6 separate regions of the Homo sapiens genome follow, and all the other regions are linked to region 6. The links are contacts of gene promoters, found by promoter capture Hi-C in blood cells and fetal thymus (Javierre and others, 2016). All regions are on one chromosome and are shown on one strand. The core of a region is centred on a gene start or on the middle of the fragment in contact, and the rest is flanking DNA. Distances in the headings are between cores, read along the strand shown. Region 1 overlaps ERCC8 (ERCC excision repair 8, CSA ubiquitin ligase complex subunit). Region 2 overlaps ERCC8 (ERCC excision repair 8, CSA ubiquitin ligase complex subunit). Region 3 overlaps ERCC8 (ERCC excision repair 8, CSA ubiquitin ligase complex subunit). Region 4 has its middle 9.3 kb from the start of ELOVL7. Region 5 overlaps ERCC8 (ERCC excision repair 8, CSA ubiquitin ligase complex subunit). Region 6 holds the start of DEPDC1B (DEP domain containing 1B).

Region 1 (3,210 bases), core at 312-2,811, 240 kb after region 6:
TTTGTCATTGGAGGTCTAGAAGGAGAAGAGAAAGAGTGTAGTGTTGAAAAAACATTGGAAAAAATGGCTGGAAAGTTCCCAAGTTTATGGAAAGATATAAGTCTACAAGTTCAAGAAGCAGAATGAACCCTAACTAGGATAAATCCAAAGAGATCTGCAACCAGACACATCATAATTAAACTGCTGAAAACTAAAGACGAAGTCTTCAAAGCAACCAGAGAAAAATGATAAATTACCTATAGGAAAACAATGATTTGAATGGCTGCAGATTCCTTTTCAGAAACCATTAGACCTACTCTAAAAAAATTGATAAACTATATTCTTCAGAGACAAGAAAAAGATATAAGAAGGAAATTTGAGGCATCAGGAATAAAGAGACAGCAACAGAAATAACTATCTGGTTAAATATAATGGCTACTTTTTTCCTTAAAATATGATTGATGGTTGGAAAAAATTATAATGTCTGATAGAGTATATAATGTATGTAAATATAAAATATAAGACAACAATATATATATGGTGCAGGGGAAAGGGTGATAAGGTTTCTATATGCCAAATGAAGCAGTAAAACAATGAAATGATCCGAAGTAGACAACGAAAAGTAAGTATTTTATAATTCCTAGAGCAGCCACTAAAGAATTATACAAAAAGATATAGTCAAAACCATAGTATATAAAATAGAATACTAAATAATGTTCAAACAGTCAAATGAAAGCAGGAAAGGGGAAACATAAATATGGAGCAGCTAGCACTCTCACCTATTAGTGGTGGGACTGGAAAATGCTTTTGGAAAACTGTCAGTTTCTTAAAAAGTAAAGGATTTATCTAGTAGCTCCACTGTTATGCATTAACTTCAGAGAAATAAAAGCATATGTTCATACAATGACTCATACATGAATTTTCAGAGCAGCTGTAAATGTATTAGTCCTGAACTGGAAACAACTCAGATGTCCATCGACAAGTGACTAGATAAACTGTGGTATATCTGCACAGTGGGATACTCCACAGCAAAAAAAAGGAATTGATACATGCAATAACATGGAGAAATTTCAAAATAATGTAATTATGCTGAGTGAAAGAAGCCAGACAAAAAAGATTCCATTTATATAAAATACTAGATATGCAAACTAATCTATAGTGACCTAAAGCAGATTAGTAGTTTCTAGAGAAGGAAGAGGGTAAAGCAGAGAAAGAAGGGAGACAGGGATTATAAATGACCGTCAAAAATTTTTTAGGGTTATGGATGTTCTCTTGATTATGGTAATGGTTTCAAAAGTAAATATATGTCAAAATTCATCAAATTGTATATTCTCATTTAATGTGCAGGGTATTGCATGTCAATTATACCTCAATAAAGTTGTAAAATGTTTTTTTAGAGGGTGTAAACTGTGAACACTGCATATCAGTGTTCATCCTTTTGCTCTTACATGATGACAAGGAAGAACAGTAGACATCTCCTATGAATAAAATGGAACTATATAATTGTTTAAGCAAAAACATCACTTAATGATGGAAATATTTTTAAAAAAATTTTAGGCTGTGTGGTAGCTCGCACATATAATCCCGGCACTTTAGGAGGCAAAGGCAGGAGGATCACTTCAGCCCAGGAGTTCAAGACCAGAATGGGAAACATAGGGAGACCCCATCTCTACGAAAAATTTAAAAATTAGCTAGGTGTGTGGGCACATGTCTGTGGTCCCAGCTACTTAGGAGGATGAGATGGGAGGATCATTTGAGCCTGGAAAGTCGAGGCTGCAGTGAGCTGTAACTGCACCACTGCATTCCAGCCTGGGTGACAGAGCAAGACCCTGCCTCAAAAAAAAAATATTTTTTTAATTTTTAAATACTTTATTTGTCTTAAACGTATAAGCAATCCTCACTTGGCACAGTCTGATATGAATTTCAGTTACCACAGTTTATTAACCGTGAGAAATAGCATAAAAGTTTGCTACTAGCTTTTCAGTTCACAAATCATTACATAAATAACATATGAATCAAAATTGACCAATTTGCAATTTTACTTCTTTCAAAGTCTATGGGTGATTGGTCACTGTGCATCTGTTATTCAGTTCACACACAGGCTGCAAAGCATGGAGGTTTGTTATTAATATTTCTGTGCCCTTGAGATAAACCCACATGGAATTTTACAGATTAAAAGAGGAAATTGGCCAAAAGAATGAAAGTGCACTAAAGAAGAGTGATAATACTAGAAGTGAAACTTGCATTAAACATAAATGGAGCAAATGAAAAAAAAGCTGCCTGTGGGAACATGCTGATTGTGGCAACAATGACACTGCCGCCATTTGAGACATTCTAGATATGCAGACTGAGGAAATCAGTGAAGGTGAACTTATAGACATAAATGAGGAAAAGTGATTGTGATGAAAGGCTGATGATGTGTCAGAGGAAGTGACACTGGCAAAAAAAACACATTAAAGGAACTCTCAGAGATATTTCACAACATTGAAAACGTAATGGATAAAATGTTGGAAACTAATATTTAAATTTCTCCAGAACGCAGAACTCATAAGCAACTGTGTTCTCCAAGTAAATATCTTCACAGGTTCCTCAATTAATGTGGGCAAAATTAAAAGTACAACTTGCTTCTTCCCTTTGGAAAACCCTCTCTCAGAGTATATTACCAACATTCAACTTCTTATACAAGGCATAGATCTGGGAATCATTATTCATTCTTCTCTTTTTGTCATTCACGTATCCACTCAATTTCCATGGCCTGTTGATTCTATTTCTCAGACGTTGTTCAAATCTCTCCACTATCTTTATTCTACTTGGCAACTCTGTGGCCCAGGCTTCCAACAACTCTCTCCCGGACAAGTGTAATCACAACAGTTACCTAACTTGGCTCCCACTCTTGTTCTCAGTTGCAACCCATTCTCCAAGCAGAAAACAAAATGCAATAGCTGTTACCTTATTCTCATCTTCACACCTCTACTCAAGTACACAAGGCTCTTCCTCATCTAGTTTCTGTCTACTTCATCTCTTGTCAATGGTCCCTACCCCAATTCTCCGCTCTAGTCATTCTGAACTTTGTTCAATTCCTGGCCTGTGTCCTCTGCCTTTAATAGGCTGCCTGGCACACTGTAGGAATTCACTAAATATGCAGACTGAATGAATGAACGAGTCCGTGGAGGGCAGTTATTCTTTGGAGTAACTTAAGAGAGAAGGAATACAGTACAACGAAGTATTCTT
Region 2 (3,278 bases), core at 485-2,984, 200 kb after region 6:
GGCAAATTAAATGCTAATTATTATTAGCACAGTATCTGACATACAAGCTCTCAATAAATATTAGCTATTATTATTATCACCAAATTATAAGCTTTTAGTAGTTTGTTCTGAAAATTATTAAACCATAGGCATATCTGATAAGACTATAACCTACATAAAAACAAGTACTAGAAATTAATAGCCACATAAGAATATAGCACCTTCGAAATATATTTATTGCAGTAGTATTAAATAAAGTACTACATATTCTGGTACTATAAAATTCACTGTAAATTTTGTTTATAAGTCATATATAGTACAGGTTAAGTATCCCCATCCAAAATGATTTGGACTAGAAGTATTTTGGATTTTAGAATATTTGCTTTACTGCCTGAACATCCCTAATCTGAATATTCAAAATCTGAAATGTTCCAATGAGCACTTCCTTTGTGTGTCATGCTAGCACTCAAAAAGTTTCAGATTTTGGAACATTTCAGATTTCAGATTTTCAGATTAGGGATACTCAACCTATATAAAATTTGATTACTTAGCTTCATATCTTTAATTTATATCAGTAGTCCTCAGTCTTTTATTTTTCTCTACTACGCTTTGCACTCCCATTGAGAACAGTGGCTCAGTAGAACAGTGATTCTCTGCTAAGTAGGGAGAATGTGGTAGGTAGTGGGTAAGGGTGGGTTGTCCTGAGTTGAGAATTACTAGTCCACATAGTAGAAACACATTTTTAAAAACAGCTGTGATTAAAAGGGAATAAATGAGTTAAATATATAAAAAAATCAAGTGTATGTCACAGATCCATTTCTTAATTTATACCCAAATATATACTTAAAAATCTCTTACAAGTGTGTTTTCTCCATTGGAACTATTCCAGAGCCTCATTCGATTATCTGTACCAACAGTGAGGAGGTGAAGTCCATCACTTGTAAAACATAAGCCATTAACTTTCCCATTATGAGCAGTGTTTGCTGCAATGAAAAACATAGTTCAGTTTATCTGTTCTTGTATTCAGGACATATTTAATGTTTGATGATATAATTAAACATATTAAAGGACAACTACTTGAGTTACTTAAAAAATGTAAGTAGATTATACTTAACCAACCCTTCAGATTATTTGAATAGGATAAGCTATATAAATCAGAACCATAAAAATAGAGGAAAACAAAAAAAAAAGGGAAAAAATTTCTGCCTAACATACTTTTCTTTTCCAGCAAGGAAATTGTGCCATGAAATTCAATTAAATGTGTAGCTTAACACTAAAATTTAAAATTAAATGCCTTTCATCTCTCATATATTTTTATTGCTAACCTAAAAATCATTCTATGGACTATTAAAATCAATAATTCTAGTGTTTTCCATTGAAAAAAAAAACAGGGAAAGGATGACTGTTGTAGTCTCAAAATTTATATCACTTACAAAATTAACAAGTTTGAGAAAGCATAATTCTAAAATAGCCTAATTAATTTAAAAACATATAAAACATGTTTTATATAGTTTACATGTTTCATAAGGTTTTTTAAAAAACTATATAAATTCTAATATATGAAATATATTAGAATGAACTATATAAAACCTATGATTGTTTTATATAGTTTTTAAACTTTGTGATTGTTTTATATAGTTTTATGTAGAAACTACATAAAACTATAGTTGTTAAGAAATTACATAAAACAATTATAGGTTTTATATAGTTCATTCTAATATATTTCTGGTCCAGAATTAATTCTCTATCAAAATTTCTACACAGGAATTAAATTCTACTGTAAAAATGCAGTTTAGGTACTTTGTCACATGGATTGCAGCTGACTCACATTTAACACAATTTTATGTTGATACAATGGCCACAAAATGTTACTATTTCTGTAATTTATTGTGACTTTTTAAATGGCATTGAATATGTATAGTTGGCCTCAATGGAGCAAAAACAAAACAAGTAAAGCAAGTTAATTCACAAAAATTTCTACTTTTGAAAATTTGGGGGCAAATGAAACTGCCATTTTTATTTGTATCTTAAAGAAAGAGAATCATAATTTAGTTTATGTAAATTAAGAAAGTGATATACGATGAATGCCTTTTGAAAAATCATAAAGTTTGCAATTTGTCAATATGCGTTTATTATGTGGCTTCAATTAAAAATTTTCAATGTAAAAAAATACTATCATTGTCATATTTATTAATGCGTTCTTCCTTACCTGATTCAACAGCTTGTGACTTTTTCCCATTATGTTGATCAAGAGTAATCAAACATCCTGATGCTCTTCTCACATCCCATAATTTTACTCTACTGTCAGCACTGAGAAGAAATAAATGTTACATTGACATATGTAGCTAGGACAATGACTGTACCCCTCACCCACCTTTCTAATTTTATGGCACACAGAGGTCTCGTTATATAGGTACATATGTATTCATACATTAGGGTTGTTGAACTTTTGCCTTTTCAGCAAATATTCAATAGTCAACAGTAGCTCAAATAAGTGAGTAAATAGCAAAAAAAAAAAGTAACCTTTCTTTTCCAGATAACAAGAACAAAATTTTGCTGCTTTTTATATTGTTTTAAATTACATGAGCATCTTTTCTCCCAAGGACCAGAAAGGCTTGTAGCTTGTTCCAAGTAAGTTCCTTACCATACCTTTTCTACTGCTTGTTATCCAAATGCTGTCAAGACAAGCAATTAACTAATTTCACTTTGCTCAAGAATCCATTTGGTATGATTTGGTGTTTTTTTCCTTTTTATATAAAAAACGGTAAGTGTAAGGTGAATAATGAGGACAATGCATTTCCATTTGGTTTCCTATACTCAAATCAATCTTTGCCAGATATATGAGAACTATATTTAATGTCTCCTAGAAATTAGACACTTACTTTCATTTTCTTTCAAGTAAGCAAAAAGAAGAAAGGCAAATCTATGATCAGACATCTATTTCAGCTTCTAGATTATTTCTAAAGAAAAATGCCTGGCAATCCGACGTGCTCCTAATCAGTTCAACTGATGCTATCATGTCCTCACAAGGACCTCAACAATATTGTAACCCAGGGGGCTTATCAATGCCATTTTAATAAGAGAGAGCATTACATTTTTATAAGCCTATTTTTTATTTAATTTTTTTAAAAAAATATACACACAAGGTTTACTGGTTTCTATAACCTCGATTCTTTTCACAGATGACCATCAAACCTAGCCAACTGGAATAGTTAGCAAAAAACTAGCATTACCCATTCTTAAGTTGGTTTTCTTTCTTTCCAGGTGAAGGAAATGAAATCAGTATGAGGATTTAAGTC
Region 3 (3,383 bases), core at 244-2,743, 180 kb after region 6:
ACTGATACCCTTTCTTCCAGTTGATCAAATCAGCTACTGAGGCTTGAACATTCATCACGTAGTTCTCGTGCCATGGTTTTCAGCTCCATCAGGTCGTTAAAGGACTTGTCTGCATTGGTTATTCTAGTTAGCCATTTGTCTAATTTTTTTTCAAGGTTTTTAACTTCTTTGCCATGGGTTCAAACTTCCTCCTTTAGCCCGGAGTAGTTTGATCGTCTGAAGCCCTTTTTTCTCAACTCGTCAATGTCATTCTCCATCCAGTTTGTTCTGTTGCTGGTGAGGAGCTGCGTTCCTTTGGAGGAGGAGAGGTGCTCTGACTTTTAGAGTTTCCAGTTTTTCTGCTCTGTTTTTTCCCCATCTTTGTGGTTTTATCTACCTTTGGTCTTTGATGATGGTGACGTACAGATGGGGTTTTGGTGTGGATGTCCTTTCTGCTTGTTAGTTTTCCTTCTAACAGTCAGGACCCTCAGCAACAGGTCTGTTGAAGTTTGCTGGAGGTCCCCTCCAGACCGTTTGCCTGGCTATCAGCTCAGAGACTGCAGAACAGTGGATATTGGTGAATAGCAAATGTTGCTAGCTGATCGTTCCTCTGGGAGTTTTGTCTCAGAGGTGCACCTGGCTCTGTGAGGTGTCAGTCTGCCCCTACTGGGGGGTGCCTCACAGTTAGGCTACTCGGCATCAGGGACCCACTTGAGGAGGCAGTCTGTCTGTTCTCAGATCTCCAGCTGCGTGCTGGGAGAACCACTATTCTCTTCAAAGCTGTCAGACAGGGACATTTAAGTCTGCAGAGGTTTCTGCTGCCTTTTGTTTGGCTATGCCGTGCCCCCAGAGGTGAAGTCTACAGAGGCCGGCAGGCCTCCTTGAGCTGTGGTGGGCTCCACCCAGTTTGATCTTCCCAGCCGCTTTGTTTACCTACTCAAGCCTCAGCAATGGCGGGCGCCCCTCCCCCAGCCTGGCTGCCGCCTTGCAGTTTGATCTCAGACTGCTGTGCTAGCAATGGGCGAGGCTCTGTGGGCGTCGGACCCTCCGAGCCAGGCGCAGGATATAATCTCCTGGTGTGCTGTTTGCTAAGACCATTGGAAAAGTGCAGTATTAGGGTGGGAGTGACCCGATTTTCCAGGTGCCGTCTGTCACCCCTTTCTGTGACTAAGAAAGGGAATTCCCTGACCCCTTGTGCTTCCCAGGTGAGGCGATGCCTCACCCTGCTTTGGCTCATGCTCAGTGCGCTGCACCCACTGTCCTGCACCCACTGTCCGACACTCCCCAGTGAGATGAACCTGGTACCTCAGTTGGAAATGCATAAATCACCTGTCTTCTGCATTGCTCACGCTGGGAGCTGCAGACTGGAGCTGTTCCTATTCGGCCATCTTGGCTCCACCTAGTTTTTTGTATTTTTAGTAGAGACGGGGTTTCACCGTGTTAGCCAGGATGATCTCGATCTCCTGATCTCGTGATCTGCCTACCTCAGCCTCCCAGAGTGCTGGGATTACAGGCGTGAGCCACTGCGCCCGGCTTAGAAACATTTTTTAATGGTAACCCCTACTGCATGTCTGAGAATGTTCATTTTCCTTTTGATGAATATGATAACTTTGAATCTTAGAATTCAATCAATGAAAACAGTAGAAAAAGTTACGTGTTCCTAGTACATTTTCCAAGTATCAGCTAGAAGAGCTGGAAAACAATATATTAATTTAGGCATTCTTTATTGTTAAACAGATTACATTATTAAACTTAATGTCAGCTATACTCCAAATGTCCAGAAGCGAAACTATTATTATTATTATTTGAGATGGAGTCTTGCTCTGTCACCCAGGCTGGAGTGCAGTGGCATGATCTTGGCTCTCTGCAACCTCTGCCCCCCAGGTTCAAGTGAGTCTTCTGCCTCAGCTTCCTAAGTAGCTGTGACTACAGGCGCATGCCACCGGCGAATTTTTGTATTTTTAGTAGAGATGGGGTTTCACCATATTGGCTAGGCTGGTCTTGAACTCCAGATCTTGTGATCTGCCAGCCTTGGCCTCCCAAAGTGCTGGGATTACAGGCGTGAGCCACCACTCCTGGGCACGAAACTATTATTAAACCTCAGGTAACTACTCACTGATTTCTAGCCACGGTACACTTATTTGCAACAGTTGTATACTGAAGTCTGTTCATTTTGTCTTTCATCCAAATGTTTACTGAATTTCCTGTCTTTTTGGGTTGTCAATTTGACTATTAAATTAGGTTATTTAGTGAGAGTTTATTAAAAGACATCTTGTCATTGGGGGTTAGCTGACTCCTCTTCCCTACTCTGTCTCTAGAAGCCTTTAACTTGCCTTTGATAACTACCAAAAATAGCCCTGGGAAAACACACACACACACACACACACACACACACACACATGTCTGTAGGTGGATAAGCCACATGAGGGCCATGCTTCCTAATCCTACTATGGAAGCCCAGTGTGTAACCTATTAAAAATTTTAATTTCAGTTGAAAACTCAACAGAAAAGCAAAATTATACTTCATCATAAATTATTTTTGTATGGTAAGCAAAGAAACAAAAATAAATGAAAATCATAATCAGTTGCATACAAATTATTTCACTTTTCAGTGAAATAATGATATATGAATGCATTACAGTATTTTAGAAATACATTTTATTGCCAAAACAATCACAAATAAATATTATACTGGTAGTATGATAAAGCAGCAGTAAAAATGTTGTAGATGGATGTGGTACACATTACCATTTGAGACCCACTGATCAAGTGTCACTACTATTATTTCAGTTTTCTCTGCAACATCTCCTCCTAGTGGACATGCAGTCTGTGCTTGAACATATTCATCTATATCTCACCAGGTTGTCAATTCTACTGACAGATAGTGTCAATGTTATAGAAATAATGAAGCATGAGTTTAGAGGGGACCTAGTTATGAGTTTAGAGAAGGAATAGAACCAAACTTAACATCTACAAGGATATTTCTTGATAACTTTCAAATTTCTGACTGGTAATTAGTGGCAACTCTCAGGTTGTCAGCAAGTGATTATACATTGACACAAGTGATATGTAAAACAGTTATGTATTGTGTGAATGTCAAAACAAAGTAAGATTCTTAGTGAGAGGTCAGGTTTAAACTGGAATAAACCTGCCCTATAGATCTCAGGCAGGAAAAAGTAATTAGGAGTTATAGATAGGCTTGTCTTGACCAGACCAGCTTTTAGAAAGGAGGGTCAAAAGGAAGCCAGATTCCTCAAAATATAATAAAACAGTCTGCCAACTAAATAAAAGGATTTATAGTTAAAGACCATAAATCCTGTCCCTATCATCCAGTGTTCTTCCTTTCTTTAGATAGAATTAAATTCATCTTCTACTTTGGATATCAGGAGAAACACCCCTAAGGG
Region 4 (3,459 bases), core at 125-2,624, 150 kb after region 6:
TGAAGGAGCTGTGACATATCCCCCAAAGCAAAGTTTGTGAGTCATTTAGTTACAGCTCATTTGTTTCAGCTGTTTTTTTCTAGATTAGCATGAGGAAAAATTAGACTTGTTCAGAAAGCTTAAGAAAATAGTTATTGTAAGGGAAAACAGTGATGGGCATAGAAATGGCCAGATTCTTTTCTATATTCTATCCTATTTTTAAGAGACAGGGTCTTGCTCTGTCGTCCAGTCTAGAGGGCAGTGCAGTAGTCATAGCTCACTGCAACCTCAAACTCCTGGGCTCAGGTGATCCTCAGGCGAGTAGCTGAGACTACAGGTATGAGGGTATGAGCCACCACACCAACTTGTTGTTGTTGTTGTTTTTGTTGCTTTTAGATAGGGTCTTGCTCTGACACCCAAGCTGCAGTGCAGTGGTATGATCTTAGCTCGTTGCAACCTCTGCCTCCTGAGTAGAAATGAAAAGCATGCCCACTCACAGCTATAGCAGATGATGGCTAGCTATTCACTAGATTTGTTTCCTCTTTCTCCTGGGCACGCAGCTGGATTATATCTCCCAGTCTTCCTTACAGTTTAGCAGTGGCCATGAAAGTGAATTCTGGCCAATGGAATTCGAGCAAAGTGTTGCTTGTCCCTTCCAGGCCTGGCTCATTCACATTTAACAGGTGAAATCCTGTGTGTTCTTTCTCCTGCATCACCCTGAAGGAAGCCTTATATGCTGAATGTGGTGGAGCCACAAGATGGAAGGGATTCTGTGTTCTCAAATTACCCTGTGGAGGGGAAGGATCTTCTAGGAATTATAAACAAATTTATAGTGCATTAAGCCTCTGAAACTTTGTAGTTAATCTGTTACAACTGTTAGCCTGCCTCAAGTGATAAAATACTCAGAGAAGATAGTACTCAGAGAAGGATTTACAGTTTCACCCTGCAGAAAGCAGGAAATGGTTAGCTCTTCCTTTGGCCTTTCCTTGATATTTTGCTAGGTAAGGGCGGACAACCTCTTGATATTCTTCCTTAATGGACTAGTTTTCCTAACTTTACCTTATTACAGTAGCCTCTTAACTAGCTCCCTGCTTCTGTTGTTGTCCTCTGCCCTTAGAGTTTATTATCAAAACAATGACCAGACTGACCTCAGGACGTTCTGCTAAATCCTCCAAGCTTTCCATTTGTTTGAAAAATAAGCCAAAGTCTTTTCAATGACCTACAAGAGCCTTTGTGATCTGCCACCTCTCCCTATTACCTTTTATCCTTATCTCCTTTACTCTCCCTTTCTGCTCAGACAGATACACCCACACAGATTTCCTTGCTATCTCTTGGACCCGGCAGGCATGCTTTAGCCTCAGGGCTTCTGTGCTTGTTCCCTCTGCCTAGAATGCTCTTCTCCCAGATACCCACATGACTTGCTCTTTTAAATCCTCCCGATGTTTGCTCAGAGAGGCATTTTCTGAGCATGCTATTTAAAACTAAAACTCCTCACATTCTCTATTCCTCTCTTCTACATTATTTTTCTACGTAGCACTTATCACCTAACATACTATACACATTTCCTCTGAAATATTGTTTATTGTCTGCCCCTCTCCACACCCCAATTAAAATGAAAGCTTCATGAGAATTTTTGACCTTTTTTTTAAAAACAGTTGCCCATCTAGAGTAGCACTTGGCAAACAATAATACATTTTTTAAAAAATAATTAAATGCTATTATATAGATAAGCAAAGTATGCCAAAGGAACACTAAAGAGAAACTCCTAATTCAAACTGGTTCTGGCAGGGAAGAACTTTCTGGAGAAATTTGCTCCTCTGCCAGGACTAAGGGGTGATGTAGTTGTTGCGAGCATGAGACAGTGGTCACGTCTTAGTCCTCATCTTAGCTGACCTATCATCATCATTTGACACAGTTGATTACGGTTTTCTTGAAATGCTGCCTTCACTTGACATCAGGGATACCACACTTGCCTGGCTCTTCTCCTTTTTCTGGAAATTCTTTTTCAGGTTCTTCACCAATTTTTCCCTCATCTTCCACCCCTAAATTTTGGAGTGCTCCAAGGTTCTGTTCTTAGCTGTCTTCTCTCATCTATCTGCACTCATACTTCACGTGATCTGAGTAAGAAAAGGCTTAAATGCCATCTCTATAGTCATGATTCCCAAATGTGTTTTCTAGACTGTATCTTTTTCTTGAATTCCAGATTTGTATATCTGAGTGCCCACTGGGCCTCACCATTTGATTAATAATTTGTATCTCAAACTTAAATGTCCAAAACAGAGCCACTGATATTTCCCCTTTTTGTAGTCTTCTCTACCTCATTCAATGGCAACTCTATTCTTTTGGTTGCTCAGGCCAAAATCCTTGGAGTCATCTTTGACTCTTCTCTTCCTCTCTGCCAACTCTTCAAAATATATCTAAAACCACTTCCCACCATCTCCACTGCCATCATGTTGGTACCGCCACCGTCATCTCTTGCTTGGAATATTTCAATAGCCTCTTAACTGATTTCTTTGATTCTGCTTATTGTTCCCTTAGTCTCTTTGGGCTGCTATAACAAAATATACTAAGCTGGGTGGCTTCTAAACAACAGAAATTGATTTCTTACAGTTCTGGAGGCTGAGAAGTCCAAGATCAAGACACTAGCAGATTTGGTGCCTGGTCAGGACTAGTTAGCTGTATGGTTCATAGTGGTGCCTTCTTGCTGTGTCTTCATGTGGTGGAAGGGGAAAAGGCAGCACTCCGTTCTCATGACATTATCACCTCCTAAAGTCCCTACCTCCTAATACCTTGGTGATTAGGTTTCAACATATGGATTTAGGGGAGACACAAACAATCAGACCATAGCACTTCCCTTCAGCCAATCCCCACTCTGACACCAGAGTTCCCCTGTTAACACCAAAGTCAGATTATGTCTCTCCTTTGCTCAAAACCTTCCAATGGCTTCCTATCAGCCCTATAGGTACCTACAAGGCCCTTCTTGACCTGAGATAATCTGTAACCACTATCCCCCTAATTATCCTTCTCCATTCAGCTTTCTTGCTGATCCTTGGACATGCCATTGTGCTCTTATCTCAAAGGGCCTTTATACTTGATACTCCCTTTGTCTGGAATGTTCTTTTCTGAGATATCTACATGGGTAAGTCCCTCACTTCCTTGAGGTCATTACTCAAAATTCACCTTTCTCAATGAAGCTTTTCCTGGATACCCCATCTAAAATTTTAATGCTATTCCCTCCTCCCACTTCCCATTCCTTTTCTCTGCCTTTTTTTCCTCCTTTGTAGTTTCAATAATATACCTTATTTTACACATTTACATTGTCTTTTTCCTCCACTTCAGTATAATAAGGCCATATGTGCTCAGTTTTTCAAGCCTGCGTCTTTCTTATATTATGCCTATTTCTGCAGTCACAACTTTAAATTCATGCTAATAAACATCCACTCTCGAGGGGAATGTTTGAGCATAGGTAAGGATTTGGTC
Region 5 (3,269 bases), core at 516-3,015, 220 kb after region 6:
ACAATTATTGACTCACTCTCAAGCTGGTCTATTATATTGGTAGAACCTACAAAATTATTCTATTCAAAAACTTTGCAAAAATATTTCTAAAAAGTAAAAGTAACAAGCATATATACTAAAGCTATATACATTGATTGAACTTAATAATTTGTAAAATCATTCTTGGTACTTCATATACTTTAATCAGTTTCTTAACCATATTTGTCTCTAATACTGTTACTGTGTTTTTTTAAATGGGATTTTTCAATATGATCTTATTAGTTTTTTTGGCATAAAATTGTCTAAAAATCATCTTTAAATCTGGAGTTGTTGACACCTTTAACTGACTTCCCTAAAAGCCATAATGTTTAATTTAGGAAATAACAATAGTTGATGAGGTATATGATAAGTTCAGAGAAAATTCTGCAAAATGGAGGATATTCTTGAAATGTGCAAATATTTCAGGTTATTTTCACTGTTTTTACCTTAATTCAAAGTACCTTTCTTTAGTATACTTATTTTTTTACAAGACAAAATTCTCCTTGAACAAATTCTTTATGTCTCTTTTGGAAGTTACACCAAATTTAAATATTATAAAATCTTAGACATTGTGAATGTTATTCCATTACAAAATATACATTTATCCCAATTACAAATATACATTTATCCCAATCAAAAATAGGGGAACCATCAAAAATTCTTCACAGAGATCCAAACAATGCAATCTCTCTACATCATCACTCTTTCCTTTTCACCTCAAAGTAACTCATTATCATGATTTTTATCGTAGTCACTGTCTTTCTCTTCTGTATAGTTCATAGTTCATCACCTTAGAGTGTACACATGAATATTAGCTTTGCTTTTTAAAAAAATTTTAATGTCTTTTAACTTTAAGCTATAGGTCTCCTCTACCTTTCTTCCTCCCTCCTGTACTTTTCCCCTCTCTTGTAATTTATTTGTTGCAAAAACCAGATCATTTGTCCTGTAATTTCCAGCCTGGACTTTGGTGACTGCATTCATGTGCTATAATTTAAAATAATTTCTATTTCCCATTGCTCTTTGTTGTGATGTGATATTAGCAGACAAACCAATATCTAGATCCATCAATTTATACATTTATATAAAGTGTTGCTATCTGCTAATATTATTGCTCACCGTCAATCCTTAAGTTGCTGTCTCTCTTGTCATTCTGGTTGAATGATTTCATTCTCTGGTTGATTCCTAAGGAATGGCTAATGAGAACAACAGTCTCTGAATTCTTGTGTTGTTGACAATTTATCCGTCCTTTTTGTATCTGAAATCAGTTTGGCTGGATATAAAATCCTTGACTCACATTTTATTTCCTTGAGCATCTTGGATAAGAAGCTTCATTTCTTCTGCCAGAAAGCCCAAAGTCAAAGTCTAGTGACAATATAAATCCCCCCCTCTTATATAAAGTTCCAGATCTTATTTATCCTAGAAAAGCTTTCTTGAATTATTGTTTTAATATTTATTCTGCTCTTTTGCCTTGGTTTCTTTTTTGGGAACTTCTATCATATGTTATGCTGGATCTTCTTTGCCTATGTTCTATATATACACCTCTTGAATTATTTTCCTCTGTTCATTTCTTTTTGGCTTTTAAAATTTTCCTCCTTTCTAGTTTCTATTTCTAAGGCATTACCTCTTCCATTTATTTGTGTTCTTTAAGTTTTAGTCAGTCTTCATTTCTGAAATATTTTTATTTCTAATTTTCTGAGTTTGAGCATCTCATTTCTGAGGTTTTCTAATAACTTAACATTATTCTCTCATTTATTATATGTTTATAAAACAACTTTTACCTAGTTTTGAAATATTAGGTTAGAGTTCTCATCTGTTTTATAGATACTTCTTTCCGGTGTGACTTCACTATCTGTAGCAGCTTTAGTCCACTTCTTATTCTCTTTGTTTTTATAATGATTTTGTAGGAACTTTGACCTTAATCCTATTCCTTTGCTCATTTTTATGTAAAATTAATTTTCTTAACCTTTTAGAATGGAGGCTTGACTTACAATAATGTTTAAATTTTATATATTAAAACATCCTCTTCTTCCCTTAAAAATTTTTTTTGGGGGGTAAGATTTCAAAATATGGAAGCTTACTTTCAGAGATTTCCTGTTTCTGTTCACCTTTCCAATTTTATCGGGGACATCTTTTTCCTTTGTTTCTATTGTCTCTGTACTGCTCAATTTGGATTCTATTTCCAGCAGTTTTCCTCAGTATATAGTTCTGTACTGGGGGCGCACTTTGACTGGTTAGCTCTTTGGAAAGATATTAGAGTCCAGACTGCTATAGCTCCTTCTGGTCTTACCATGGGCCACTCAAACATATCTACAATTAGAGTATGCCATCTTCTCCCAGTTTGAGCTGCTGTAGTCAAATTTGCTTGCTAAGTTTTCAACCAACCTGTTGGTTACTTTGGACTTATCCAGGTATATCAGATGCCTTATCGCTTTTTACTGCCTCCTCTAGCAAAAATGCTGGTAGTGCACAGATCTTTTAGTTGTCAGTGGTTTGTTCCCACTTATTCACAGTTTGGGGTTTGTAGGGATACTTCATGACCTAGTTTGGTTGTAAGTGTTAATCTGGTTTTTCCTATTTGCCATTTTTAGTCTCTTTATGTGTTTTAATGGAGAACTAGAGGAACATTAAAAACTGCATTGACATTGTCATCTTTCTTTCTTTTTTTCTGAGAAGAAGTCTCGCTCTGTAGCCCAGACTGGAGTACAGTGGCATGATCTCGGCTCACTGCAACCTCTGCCTCCCAGGTTCAAGTGATTCTCCTGCCTCAGCCTCCAGAGTAGCTGGGATTACGGGCACGCGCCACTGCACCTGGCTAATTTTTTCTATTTTTAGTAGAGACGGGGTTTCACCACGTTGGCCAGGCTGGTCTTGAACTCCTGACCTCAGGTAATCCGCCCGCCTCGGCCTCCCAAAGTGCTAGGATTACAGGTGTGAGCCACTGCACCCGGCCTGTCATCTTTCAAGAATGGCACCCAAACTACAGTTTTTGGCACTACATTCACTGAGTATTTTGATTGAAAGATTTTCATCTGATTTTGAACAAAATACAATTAAATGTAGAGGCAGTGCTATTTAACTCTCCAAGATAAGGAGCTTGTACCAGAAACAAACACACGTCTTTCTTCACTGAGAATGTCTTGTTACAAACATGTCTTAGCTCCTTTAAATGGTGTGTGTAATGATGTAGTAGATTTATGTTTTAGCACAAGATCCTTATCTTGTGACCCAGTCACAAATAGTTCATGAACTAG
Region 6 (3,214 bases), core at 158-2,657:
AGGTTCAAGAGATTCTCCTGCCTCAGCCTCCTGAGTAGCTGAGACTATAGGCGCATGCCACCATGCCCAGCTAATTTTTGTATTTTTAGTACAGACGGGGTTTTGCTGTGTTGGCCAGGCTGGTCTCGAACTCCTGACCTCAAGCGATCCATCCCCTTAAATCATGTAAAATTTCATGAGTATGTGCCATGTGCAGTTTTCTGTGAAGAAGATCCTTAATCTTCATCAGATTCTCAAAGCGATCTATGAGCCAAATTTAAAAAGTAAAGACCCATCAGCCCCAACTATGATTTCTCTTCCAGAAGCTGGCCTTCTCAGCTCTGGCTTGACTTACTGGTATAGTGTGTGGCTGGCTTTGGAAAGAAAAGGAAACTCTATTTACATTATCTGTATCCCAGCATCCTCACCTCTTCCATGAGTCTAGCTGAGTAAGAGTTTGGATGTTAGTTCCCATCTTTTCCTGTGTATTCATTATAATGCATGGAACTATGAGAGTAATTCCCATGTTAAATGTGGCCAGAGAGGTCGGCAGACCAAGGAGCAAGTTACTGTCCTCCCAAATTACCATTACACTTCCACAGAAAGTCCTCTAAAAACTTGCCACAGACATTACCAAACTGTCACCCTTTATTGTTCCAAGTCAAAGCAGACCAAGTACACCTCAATACCAAAGCTTTTCTCCCAGAAAAAAAAAAAAAAAAAAACAGGAACTCAGAGTCGGCAAAGACTCTCCTAAAACATCTGTCCTGGCCAGCTCTTCATCTGGATCGGTGCTGACAGAAACAGAAACGCCAGGGGCCGGAAATGCGGCCAGCGCGATGCCCCTCTGTTCTGGGCACCGTTTATTCGAATACCCCGTCAGGTATCATCAGGTGTCACTCAGGAAGGAGACACGCCCTGCCTGGACTGCCGCGAACGCTGAGCGTTACGGGGTACGTGGTGGCCCCTCAGGTTACCGACCGGGTCGGTTAGATTCCAGAGGACAAAAGGCAGGGAACAGCCTGGTCTTGGGGTCTTTAAACAGAGAGGCGCCATCTACTGCCGAGAACCCAGTCAACATCTCATGGACAAAGCTGCACTAACCCCCGGCCGGCTGAGCTCTGGGCCCCGTTAGCCTTTCTTTGAGGCTCGTCCACTAAAAGGCAGCCCCAGTAGTCCCAGCTGAAATGCTCCACACCCGAGCCCCGCTGGCCTGCGGAAGCGAAGACTGACAAGCACTCTGTCCGCGCGCTGAGTGGGGGCTCGCGGCACCGGGTGCTCCGCCCAGGCCCCAGCACACTCACTCACCAGCCTGGTAGCTCGGTACGGCCCGGGCCCCACGATGCGATGCTCCATGGCGCGTAGGCAGCAGCGGCCGCAGCCGCGCCAGCGCTGATCCCCGCCAGCCGGAGGAGCAGCAGTTTGAATCCCAAGCCCGCGGGCTGCGGGCGCTGATTGGGCGGCGCGGCAGCACGTCACCGGAAATGCGCGGGGAGGCAGGCGTCTTCTCCGAGACCCGCGGCGCTGGGAGCTCCGCGTGCGAACTTGCCCGGGGCGAAATCTGTTGCCCACCCTGGTCCCACCGTGCGAGCACACCTAGGCAGGTGCGACTAAGGGGCCGGGGGCGTCTCCCCAGCGCTGGAAAACGCTGTGCAGCGCCCTTCCCAGATTTCTGCGTCCGCGCAACACAAACACACGCAACGCTATCTCTACAAAAGGGTCAATAATAGGTGTTATCCAGCGACCGAAACCCAGCTTTGGGCCGCGTGGATAAATACCTGTCCTCCCTACCAAGTGCACTGTGAGCCTGGAGGTGCTGCTAACGCTGGGAGAAGCGGTAGTGAAATGAAGCGAGGCGACAGCTTTTACCAGTGTAGGGACATTTAAAAACGGGATAGAGAGCACAAGGAGCGTAGACAGTGTGTTAAGGGCAATAAAGAGCGGGAAGGGAGCCCCGATTCCTCTTCTGTTTGTTCTCATGATAGTCTTTTCCCCTTTAATTTGAGTTCTATGTTTTGTATTGGGCTGATACTTTTAGTCCTCGGCAATAGGGTTGTGAGTCCTTTTTTGACTGCTTAGAATTTTCCCCCTGGGAATTGCTAGTCCGATTTGCAATCTTTCAGAGGGACAAATGAAGTAACTCCATATACTTAGGACTCTGTACACCTACTCAAATTTGGTCATCTCGGTAAGTACCCAGGACAAGACGTTGAAGGAGTGAAGGTGTGCCATTCCAAAATATGCCTAATTGGTATATTGATTATTTCGAGCGGAAAACATTGGAGAAATGGTAGTTTCAGAAAGGGCAAGCTGACCTGCCTCTTCGATGCAGCAGGCCACAAAGATTTCTCTGGGATGGGCATCCTCTCCCTACCACGGTGAGAAAATAGCCTTTATCACCAAAGGCTTGGAATTGAAGGCTGCAGTGGACCTGAATAAACATTCTTAACGAAGTAACCCTATCTTCCACTAGGAGATATAGGAGATTTTTTACATATATCTTCTAGTGACTCCCTAGAAAATGTTACTGCCTTTGTGAGCTGTGGAAGTTAACTCGAGTCACAGGGCACCAAAATATGTTAGCAGCTGCCCATATCCGAGACACGGCCCCAAAGTATGTTACAGGCAGTGAATTCCTACAGATCTGCAGCAACCTCAATTCTTGACTCCTCAGAAGAAAGAGTTCGACTGAGGGGCATAAGGCAAAAGGAGAGACCAAGGCAAGTATTAGAACAGAAGTGAAGTTTATTAAAAAGCTTTGAATGAAAGGAAGTACACTTGGAAGAGGGCCAAGCCAGTGACTTGAGAGATCTAGTGCGTAGTTTGACCTTTTGACCTGGGGTTTTATACGTTGGCATACTTCTGGGGTCTTGCTTTTGGGGCTTTGCATTACTTCTCTCCTGATTCTTCCCTTAGAGTGAGCTGTCCACAGGCGCATACTTGAGCCCACTTGCCCAACTCCTAAGATCTTATCGGGAAGCTGCTGATCAACAGTTCAAGTGTTTTCTATTAGGAGACTGCCTTTCCCTGGTGCCGGCTGTGACCAACTATTATTTTAGAGAGACAATTAACAACCACCTGACCATCACCTGATGGCTGCCTGACATTCCTGATGTGTGTGTGTATGAGGGGGAGCCCTCTCCTGCCCTGCTCATGCCTGACTAGCTACCTACTGTAACACCTTAACCAGATTTTCTTTGTCATGGCTTTTCTTCTCAAATTTATCTCTCTTTAC

Evidence for each region. Contacts are between HindIII fragments. The CHiCAGO score rates a contact against its expected background, and 5 or more counts as called.
Region 1: a fragment that was not itself captured here is called in contact with the fragment with the promoter of DEPDC1B in region 6 in 2 of 17 cell types (fetal thymus and megakaryocytes); the score reaches 5.2 in fetal thymus.
Region 2: a contact is called between a fragment that was not itself captured here and the fragment with the promoter of DEPDC1B in region 6, in 1 of 17 cell types (megakaryocytes). The highest score is 5.0, in megakaryocytes.
Region 3: a fragment that was not itself captured here is called in contact with the fragment with the promoter of DEPDC1B in region 6 in 1 of 17 cell types (megakaryocytes); the score reaches 6.1 in megakaryocytes.
Region 4: a contact is called between a fragment that was not itself captured here and the fragment with the promoter of DEPDC1B in region 6, in 1 of 17 cell types (megakaryocytes). The highest score is 5.5, in megakaryocytes.
Region 5: a fragment that was not itself captured here is called in contact with the fragment with the promoter of DEPDC1B in region 6 in 1 of 17 cell types (megakaryocytes); the score reaches 10.3 in megakaryocytes.

The regions. Positions count from the first base shown.
Region 1 is chr5:60,941,456-60,944,665 of GRCh38, forward strand. All of the region lies in intron 1 of ERCC8 (ERCC excision repair 8, CSA ubiquitin ligase complex subunit), which reads right to left. Among named protein-coding and RNA genes, the nearest start is that of ERCC8, 2.0 kb to the right of the region's middle. The HindIII fragment of the contact is 3,704 bases long and covers 1-3,210 here.
Region 2 is chr5:60,897,439-60,900,716 of GRCh38, forward strand. It overlaps ERCC8 (ERCC excision repair 8, CSA ubiquitin ligase complex subunit), which reads right to left. Exons shown (of 12, transcript NM_000082.4): 8 at 2,189-2,289; 9 at 838-962. Among named protein-coding and RNA genes, the nearest start is that of ERCC8-AS1, 18 kb to the right of the region's middle. The HindIII fragment of the contact is 3,291 bases long and covers 90-3,278 here.
Region 3 is chr5:60,880,627-60,884,009 of GRCh38, forward strand. The region is part of intron 11 of ERCC8 (ERCC excision repair 8, CSA ubiquitin ligase complex subunit); the gene reads right to left. Among named protein-coding and RNA genes, the nearest start is that of ERCC8-AS1, 35 kb to the right of the region's middle. The HindIII fragment of the contact is 3,991 bases long and covers 1-3,383 here.
Region 4 is chr5:60,851,836-60,855,294 of GRCh38, forward strand. No RefSeq gene overlaps it. Among named protein-coding and RNA genes, the nearest start is that of ELOVL7, 9.3 kb to the left of the region's middle. The HindIII fragment of the contact is 443 bases long and covers 1,154-1,596 here.
Region 5 is chr5:60,923,157-60,926,425 of GRCh38, forward strand. All of the region lies in intron 2 of ERCC8 (ERCC excision repair 8, CSA ubiquitin ligase complex subunit), which reads right to left. Among named protein-coding and RNA genes, the nearest start is that of ERCC8-AS1, 7.6 kb to the left of the region's middle. The HindIII fragment of the contact is 648 bases long and covers 1,442-2,089 here.
Region 6 is chr5:60,698,759-60,701,972 of GRCh38, forward strand. It overlaps DEPDC1B (DEP domain containing 1B), which reads right to left and starts at 1,408. Exons shown (of 11, transcript NM_018369.3): 1 at 1,288-1,408. The coding sequence starts at 1,335. LOC124900982 (a long non-coding RNA gene) reads left to right here and starts at 1,482. Exons shown (of 2, transcript XR_007058779.1): 1 at 1,482-1,583; 2 at 2,896-3,214. The HindIII fragment of the contact is 2,062 bases long and covers 672-2,733 here.